Linked DNA regions of Homo sapiens: region 2 is linked to region 1. Evidence: promoter capture Hi-C in human tissues and cell types (Jung and others, 2019). All regions are on one chromosome and are shown on one strand. Each heading gives the region's core, a stretch centred on a gene start or on the middle of the fragment in contact. The rest is flanking DNA. Distances are from core to core; before and after follow the strand shown.

The links. Contacts are between HindIII fragments. The study calls those that stand out against the background at their distance.
Region 2: a contact is called between a fragment that was not itself captured here and the fragment with the promoter of GOLM1 in region 1, in 1 of the 25 tissues and cell types used here (H1 embryonic stem cells).

Annotation. Positions count from the first base shown.
Region 1 is chr9:86,097,342-86,101,364 of GRCh38, reverse strand. It overlaps GOLM1 (golgi membrane protein 1), which reads left to right and starts at 1,807. Exons shown (of 10, transcript NM_016548.4): 1 at 1,807-1,954. RefSeq lists silencers at 1,596-1,915, 1,926-2,025, 2,186-2,235 and an enhancer at 1,866-2,366. The HindIII fragment of the contact is 18,007 bases long and covers 1-4,023 here.
Region 2 is chr9:86,149,126-86,153,409 of GRCh38, reverse strand. All of the region lies in intron 4 of LOC101927623 (a long non-coding RNA gene), which reads right to left. Among named protein-coding and RNA genes, the nearest start is that of GOLM1, 52 kb to the right of the region's middle. The HindIII fragment of the contact is 3,790 bases long and covers 61-3,850 here.

The DNA of each region.
Region 1 (4,023 bases), core at 558-3,057:
CCCTTGCACATTGTTTAATCAAAACCCATCCAATTGAATTTTCAGGGCCAGCAACTGATTAGCTTTTTTATAAGGAATGTAAATTATGTATATAGATATATATAAAACTGCATCTTAAAATTTTCAACTTTTGTCATAAAGAATCTAACGAAAAGGACTAATTCATCTTCAATTAAAATATAGCTCATTCAGCCAGCTGCCTTAGCACCTAGACATATGGACCTGTTCCATAAAGTGTTTAAGAATCACTGAGTGAGTCGCTAATTAGTTGCTGATAAATGAGAGACTAATGGAGACCCTCCTTAGAGCCAAATGATATAGAAGTTACAGTCCACCAGTCTAAGAATGTAAACTATACTAAGAGAGCTAAAATGGGCAAGAAAGGGAATTTCCTGTACCTGTCCCCGATTATGGTTATTTAAGCTCACTAGAAGATCAAAGTGACACAACTTAAGTCTGCAAAACCAGGGCTGACATCTGATACAGCCTCAGCTTCTGAATGCTTTGGTCTGACCCTACAACAGTTTAACAGTTGCAGATAACAAAAATATCATTTTGGAATATAGTAGAACATTCCTCTAAAGGGGTCATGTATGGTCAGCTTCTAATTCAGCTAAGAGGTTTTAGCTGGTAAAGATACGTTTCCTGCAGTTAAGAAGCTCCATGCTCAGGTAGCAATAGGGTATCTTGATCACCTTTTTTAAGGTGACTCTTTGTTCTGGTTAAAATCAATTTCAGCTGTGAGCATTCCTTTAGGTGTTCATGTATTTACTTGTTTTTTTATTGTGATTTGAGAGAGGCGCAGAGGAAGGAGTTTCCTTTCCCAGACACCAGAGCTAGGAAGACATGAAGACATGATTCTAGGAAAACTGTTCTCAATCTTGGCCGTATACTGTATTAGGATTATCTGGGAAGCTCAAAACAAACAAAAAATATCAAGTTCACTTTGAACTCTGGAAGTGGGACCCTGGTTCCTAAATGCTCTAAAAGCTCCCCAAATAATTCTAATGGATGGCAGGTGCTGCCAGAGTTAAGAACCATTGCTTTAGAATTTTCTAGCATGGTTTCCCTGTAGGTCACTAGTTTTGTGGCATTCTCTCCGGGAGGTACGGCCTCATAGGGCTTCTCAAACATCAGTGCGCCTGAGCGTCATCTGAGGCGCTGTTTCAAATGCAGCTGCCCGGGCTATAAGATCACACCCGAAGGCGTCCGGGAATCTTCACTTTTTCCGTTGCTAGCAGTGGAAGGGTCACAGACCAAACACTAAGGCCTGAGCGGTGACAACCGAGGCGAGATGATGGTCAACAGGGAATGCCTCGTGGGAGAAAAAAGACAATTTTGTGAGTATAAGCCCCCTAAAAACCTGTTTTTCGTTCGCTTCCTTCTCTGGGCAGTTTTGACCCGACGACTTTTATAAAGAAGGTAACGTGAGTGTGGCGCTGGGTGCGGTTGGCTGTTCGGGAACATTCCCTCGGGGCGGAACGTGGGATGGGGGCTCCCCCCAGGTACCCTTTCCCCACAGCCGCTTCCCCGCTCCGCGTCGCTGCTCAGGCGCCAGCTCCCGCGTCGGAAGGGGCGATGGGGTGGCCCGGGGGAAGGGGCAACGCCCAGCGGCGAGAACTGGGCGCACGCTGGCGTTCCTGCTCCCGCCGAGGGGCGGCCACCGGCCGGGGCGCGCGCACCGTGGGGCCGGGAGTCCGCGCGGCCCCGGCAGCCCCTGCCTCGCTTCTCCGCGCTCGCGGCGCCGCCTCCTCCCTTCGCGCCGCCGGCGCTGCTCGGGGGCGGGGCCTTGCCGCTGCGGAGGCCGGAGACGCGGCGGCGCTGGACGCGGAGGCGCTGGGCGCACGGCGCGGAGCCGGCCGGAGCTCGAGGCCGGCGGCGGCGGGAGAGCGACCCGGGCGGCCTCGTAGCGGGGCCCCGGATCCCCGAGTGGCGGCCGGAGCCTCGAAAAGAGGTGAGTGGGCGGCGCGCGGCCCCAGGCTGCCCGAACCGCGGTCCATCGCTTCCTCCCTCCTTTGCCCAGGGCCCGTACCCCGCGCGCCGAGACCTCGCGTCGGTCCCCGGAGCCTCCCCGCGGCTTGCGCCGGGGCTGCAACCTTCGCTGGCTGCGCTCGGGGCTGGCTCCGCACCTTCCTGCACCGAGTAGCCCGCGGCTGCCTGGGCCCCTCGGCTCGCTCCCCAAGACCGGGCGCGCGGCCCCCTTGCCCTGCGATGAGGGGCCTCGCGAGGATTCCCTGCCCTGCAGTCTCAGGCGATGCGGGGCCTGTCTTTTTGTTCTGAGCTTTGTCACGCGCGTCGGCATCCAAAGTCAAAAGCGTGCACCCCCTAAGTCGCACTAGTTCCAGTTCTGCAGCGTGATTTGCACCAGGCGCGGGAGGCTGGCCGAGCCGCGAGTCTCTCGGCTCCCGCCGCCTCTTCCTCCCCTCCAGCCCCAGGCGCGCTCCGGCCGCCCTGGGGTCCACGTTGCCGCTGGGCCTCGTGGCTGGTGACCCCGGAGCTTGGGCTCCGGGTCCTCCCGCCGCGCGTCCAGAGCGCGGCTGCATCCCGTTCTCGTGGATGCTCGGGGTTTTCTCGCATACCTGTGTTTCCACCTTTGCCAACGTGGAGGATCCACACAACTTTGCCCTGCTGTAAAAATCATATCCCATTTAATATTTTTAATGATTTGCTTTTAAGAAACAAAATGTGAAGAATAACAATTTTGATGAAATTTTTTAGCAAAATTTAAGAATTATTATATTTGAAATACCATGATGATGCTGGACAATTTCAGATGTCCCATAGCCAGATTTGCAAAACTAAACTTGTGTGACTTTCACGATTTTGAGGTTTTCTTTGTCTGATTTGGGGTCCCTAGGCCCTACATTATGCACATTATTGAGGAACATTTCTAGGGCTGGATTAGTGAGATACACAATAACCTGATGAAGTATTTAGCAGCGCTTGAGTGGCTTTGTTTAGCTCATGGCCATCAGGTTGGCTCAAATCTCAGTTTTAGTATTTCTGAATTTTGGAGGGCATGGGACAATCTCTTGTCAGTTTTTGTGGGTCTCCAAAGGCATCCTAGCTTCTTCCAGTTGTGTTATAAAAGATGAAGCTAAGCTCATTACTTTCTTTCTTAATAGAAACTAGTAACTTGCTAAGACTTACTGTTTTTAGGCCAGACACTCAATTCTTAAGGTGTCAGTGAACAAAAATTGAATTGTTAGGATGGTTAAAGAAAAGAGGTTAGCTTTTAAGATACATTTTGTTCTCCTATGGAGAGGTTATCCAATTTTCACATTTTTTTTTAAAGTTGGTTTTACAGGAAAACGAAAGAAATGAGAGGAAAGTAGTGCTGAGGGTGGGGCCAGGAAATTGTGGTGACTTGGATATTAAGGGCCAGGGATACCATCTGCTTTCTAATGGCTGGTTTAGGTCCAGTTATTGATGGGAAATGAAAAGATTTTGCATTTACATTCCACCCGCTGTTGTTGTTGTTGTTGAGGGCTGGGCAGAAACAACAGTTAGGACAGCTGACCATAGCAGGCCCAGGGCTACCCGGGTTTATATATATATGGCCACCTTCCCCAGGAAGGAGGGAACTGCTACCCTTATCCTGTGAAAGTGCGAGCTGGCTTTCTGCATTGGAAGTACAGAGGGCAGAACCTGGGGAAAATGCGTCTGCGTGGATCAGTAGGAAGGGTGGAGCATCACTTTAGGCAGGTGTGCTGAGAAGAAGACAGGTGTCAGTTGATGGGCACTATTGGTGGGAGGGAGCTTGAAGGCAGCGTGGTCCCTGAGGTCCAGCCGCCTTTCTCAAAGGACCTGGGGTGGCCATTGGGGGCGGGGGAGCGGTGTTCTGTGCCTTTGGCTTAAATTCTGCAGCATTATTGTTATTACTTGTTTTTTCTTGAAATAAAAAAAAAATAAGTTGCCCTATGAAAAAAGATACATTTCTTTTTCAGTGACGTAATGTGAGAAATAACATTTGTAATTGGGATTTTTTAAAAGCACTTCTGTTTTTGTAAAACAAAACAATTT
Region 2 (4,284 bases), core at 706-3,205, 52 kb before region 1:
AATACCAGAGGAAGCAGAATGGTTCACTGTTCTGGACCTCAAGGATGCTTTCTTCCATATTCCCCTGCACTCTGACTCCCAGTTTCTCTTTGCCTTTGAGGATCCCACAGACCACACATCCCAACTTACGTGGATGGTCTTGCCCAAGGGTTTAGGGATAGCCCTCACCTGTTTGGTCAGGCACTGGCCCAAGATCTAGGCCACTTCTCAAATCCAGGCATTCTGGTCCTTCAGTATGTGGATGATTTGCTTTTGGCTACCAGTTCAGAAGTGTCATGCCAGCAGGCTACTCTAGATCTCTTGGACTTTCTAGCTAATCAAGGGTAAAAGGCATCTAGGTCGAAGGCTCAGCTTTGCCTACAACGGGTCAAATATCTAGGCCTAATCTTAGCTAGAGGGACCAGAGCCCACAGCAAGGAATGAATACAGCCTATACTGGCTTATCCTCACCCTAAGACATTAAAACATTTGTGGGGGTTCCTTGGAATCACTGGCTTTTGCCAACTATGGGATCCCCGGATACAGCAAGATAGCCAGGCCCCTCTATAATCAAGGAGACCCAGAGGGCAAATACTCATCTAGTAGAATGGGAGCCAGGGGCAGTAACAGCCTTCAAAACCTTAAAGCAGGCCCTAGTACAAGCTCCAGCTTTAAGCCTTCCCACAGGACAAAACTTCTGTTTATACATCACAGAGAGAGCAGGGATAGCTCTTGGAGTCCTTACTCAGACTCGTGGGACAACCCCACAACCAGTGGCATACCTAAGTAAGGAAATTGATGTAGTAGTGAAAGTCTGGCCTCACTGTTTAAGGGTAGTTGCAGCAGTGGCCATCTTAGTGTCAGAGGGTATCAAAATAATACAAGGAAAGGATCTCACTGTCTGGACTACTCATGATGTAAATGGCATACTAGGTGCCAAAGGAAGTTTATGGCTATCAGATAACCACCTACTTAGATACCAGGCGCTACTCCTTGAGGGACTGGTGCTTCAAATGCTTATGTGCATGGCCCTCAATCCTGCCACTTTTATCCCAGAAGATGGGGAACCAGTTGAGCATGACTGCCAACAAATTATAGTCCAGAGTTATGCCACCCAAGATGATCTCTTAGAAGTCCCCTTAGCTAATTCTGACCTTAACCTATATACCAATGGAAGTTAATATGCGGAGAATGGGATACGAAGGGCAGGTTACACCATAGTTAGTGATGTAACCATACTTGAAAGTAAGCCTCTTCCCCCAGGGACCAGCGCCCACTTAGCAGAACTAGCAGCACTTACCCAAGCCTTAGAACTAGGAAAAGGAAAAAGAATAAATGTGTATACAGATAGCAAGTATGCTTATCTGATCCTACATGCCCATGGTGCAATATGGAAAGAAAGGGAGTTCCTAACCTCTGGGGGAGCCCCCATTAAATACCACAAGGAAATTATGGAGTTATTGCATGCAGTGCATAAACCCAAGGAGGTGGCAGTCTTACACTGCCGAAGTCATCAGAAAGGTGAAGGAGAAAAGGCAGAAGGAAACTGTTGGGCAGATGCTGAGGCCAAAATTGCTGCCAGGCAGAACCTCCCATTAGAAATAGCTATGGAAGGACCTTTGATAGGAACAACCCCCTCCAAGTATTCCCCAACTGAAACAGAATGGGGACTTTCACGGGGGTATAGTTTTCTCCCCTCCGGGTGGTTAACAACAGAAGAAGGAAAGGTACTTATGCCTGAAGCCAACCAGTGGAAAATACTTAAAACCCTCCACCAAACTTTTCATATGGGTATTGAAAACACTCTTCAAATGGCCAAATCCCTATTTACAGGGCCAAATCTCCTCTGGACCATCCGACAGGTAGTCAAAGCCTGTGAGGTGTGCCAAAGGAATAATCCCTTGGTCCATCATAAGGCTCCTTTGGGGGAACAAAGAATAGATCACTATCCTGGAGAGGACTGGCAGTTAGACTTCACCCATCTGCCTAAGTCAAAGGGATTTCAATACTTGGTGGTCTGTATTGATACCTTTACAAATTGGATAGAAGCTTTCCCCTGCAAGACAGAGAAGGCTCAGGAAGCGATTAAAGTCCTAATTCATGAAATAATTCCTAGATCTGGGCTTCCCCAAAGCTTACAGAGTGACAATGGTCCGGCTTTTAAAGCCACGAAAACTCAGGGAATTTCCAGGGTGTTAGGGATACAATATCACCTTCACTGCACCCTGAGGCCACAATCCTCAGGGAAGGTCGAGCAGGCAAATGAAACACTCAAGAGGCACTTAAGGAAATGAACACAAGAAACTCATCTCCCATGGCCTACTCTTTTGCCCATGGCCTTCTTGAGAATCCAAAATTCTCCTCACAAAATGGGATTCAGTCCATATGAAATGCTGTATGGATGACATTTGCTCACAAATGACCTCATACTTGATCAGGAAACAGCCAACTTGGTCAAAGATATAACTTCTTTGGCAAAATATCAACAAAACCTTAAAAAACTACCTGAAGGATGTCACAGAGAAAAGGGAACAGAGTTGTTTCAATCAGGAGATCTAGTGTTAGTCAAATCTCTCCCCTCTACCTCCCCACCTACGGACTCTTTGTGGAAAGGATCATACTCGGTAATCCTCTCTACCCCCACTGCAGTTAAGGTGGCAGGAGTGGAATCTTGGATTCATCACACCCGAGTTAAGTTCTGGACATCCCCTGAGGAACCTGCAGGACCATCAGCTCAGGAGTCCCAAGATCAGCCAGACAAGCCTCCATACACCTTTGAACCATTGGAGGATTGCATCTCCTATTTTGGAAGGAAATAACCCAGACTTAAAAGGCTCCTACCATTGATCCTGAAGAAAAACCCCTTCCTCCTTAAAAAGATAAATGAAGACCTACATAATCTTTATCTTTAACACCTCTCCTTACCCCTTTAATGGAATCCTTTTATTATTTCATCATATTATTAAGCAGCATACTAACCATACTCTTTGCAATAGGGCTATATACTGTAGCTCCTGCTGGGATGAAAATCTTAATCACATCAACCTTCTCTCTATCTTCCTTCCTTCTGACAGCAATTTACTCCTAGCTTTAACTCAGCCTGGATAAAATGATCTCGTCTTCCAGAGCACCCTCTTGACCTTCCTATTTATGCTTTGCCTATCTTTCCCTTCTGCTTCCTTGGATACCTCATGCAATCACCCCTCCCCTTCCACTAGCTCCTAATTACCTCTACAAGACTCTCAACTTAACCCACTCTCTGTTAAACCAGTCCAATCCTTCCCTGGAAAATGACTGCTGGCTTTGTATCTTTCTATCAACCTCCGCTTACATTGCCATTCCCATTCCCGCAAAAAACTGGGTCTTTACCAACTTAATCTACCACCCTCATTATGAAGGAAAAGACCATTTCTGACTTCTAAATATGCAATCATTAGCTGACTTCCCCATCTCTGATAGGACCAAGAATACCCTAACAGGATGTGCAATCCAACTTTTGCTTTCTTACATTTCCAACCTCACTTATTACACAAGCAATGAAAAGCCCATACACGGCCCTGTAACTATGAATACTATCTTAACTTTCCAAGCCCTTTTATGCATCCAATGCAACCTGTTATCAGGCCTGCCCCTGGGGCACCTACTACCCCATCAGTGTAATTACACCCCACAACTTCAAGCCCCAACTGATCATAGTAACTTCCAAGTCACCCAAACAGCTCCATTCAGATGGCTTGTCCGCTTCTCAGGGCTCCCAAAAATCATCACCTCCCCCCTGCTTAACAAACAGTCCAGGTTTTATAGTGGCAAACATACTCCCTGCATGACCATTCACCCCTGGACCCCCTGCAGCAGCGCCCCCACCACTAGTGAATGCCTTCTCATCCTCTCTTTCAATTACTCTCTCAAATGGTTCCTAGCAGATACAAAATGGTTTTTTCTCCAATGGGGAAATAGAACACCGGGAGCAACTCAGTTTGCTCCCAACACCCCTTTCCAGCCACTCACCAGCACTACCTTGGCAAGTACTCTAGGAGTATGGAAAAATGAAAACAACAAACTCACACAACTTTTTAACATACACAACAAGTTCTGTCTACCCAGCCAAGGTATATTCTTCTTATTGGGAACGTCGACCTATATCTGCCTCCCCTCTAACTGGACAGGCACCTGCACCTTAGTCTTCCTAAGTCCCAACATTAACATTGCCCCAGGAAATCGGACCCTATCAGTACCCCTCAAAGCTCAAGTCCGTCAGTGCAGAGCCATACAATTAATACCCCTACTTATAGGGTTAGGAATGGC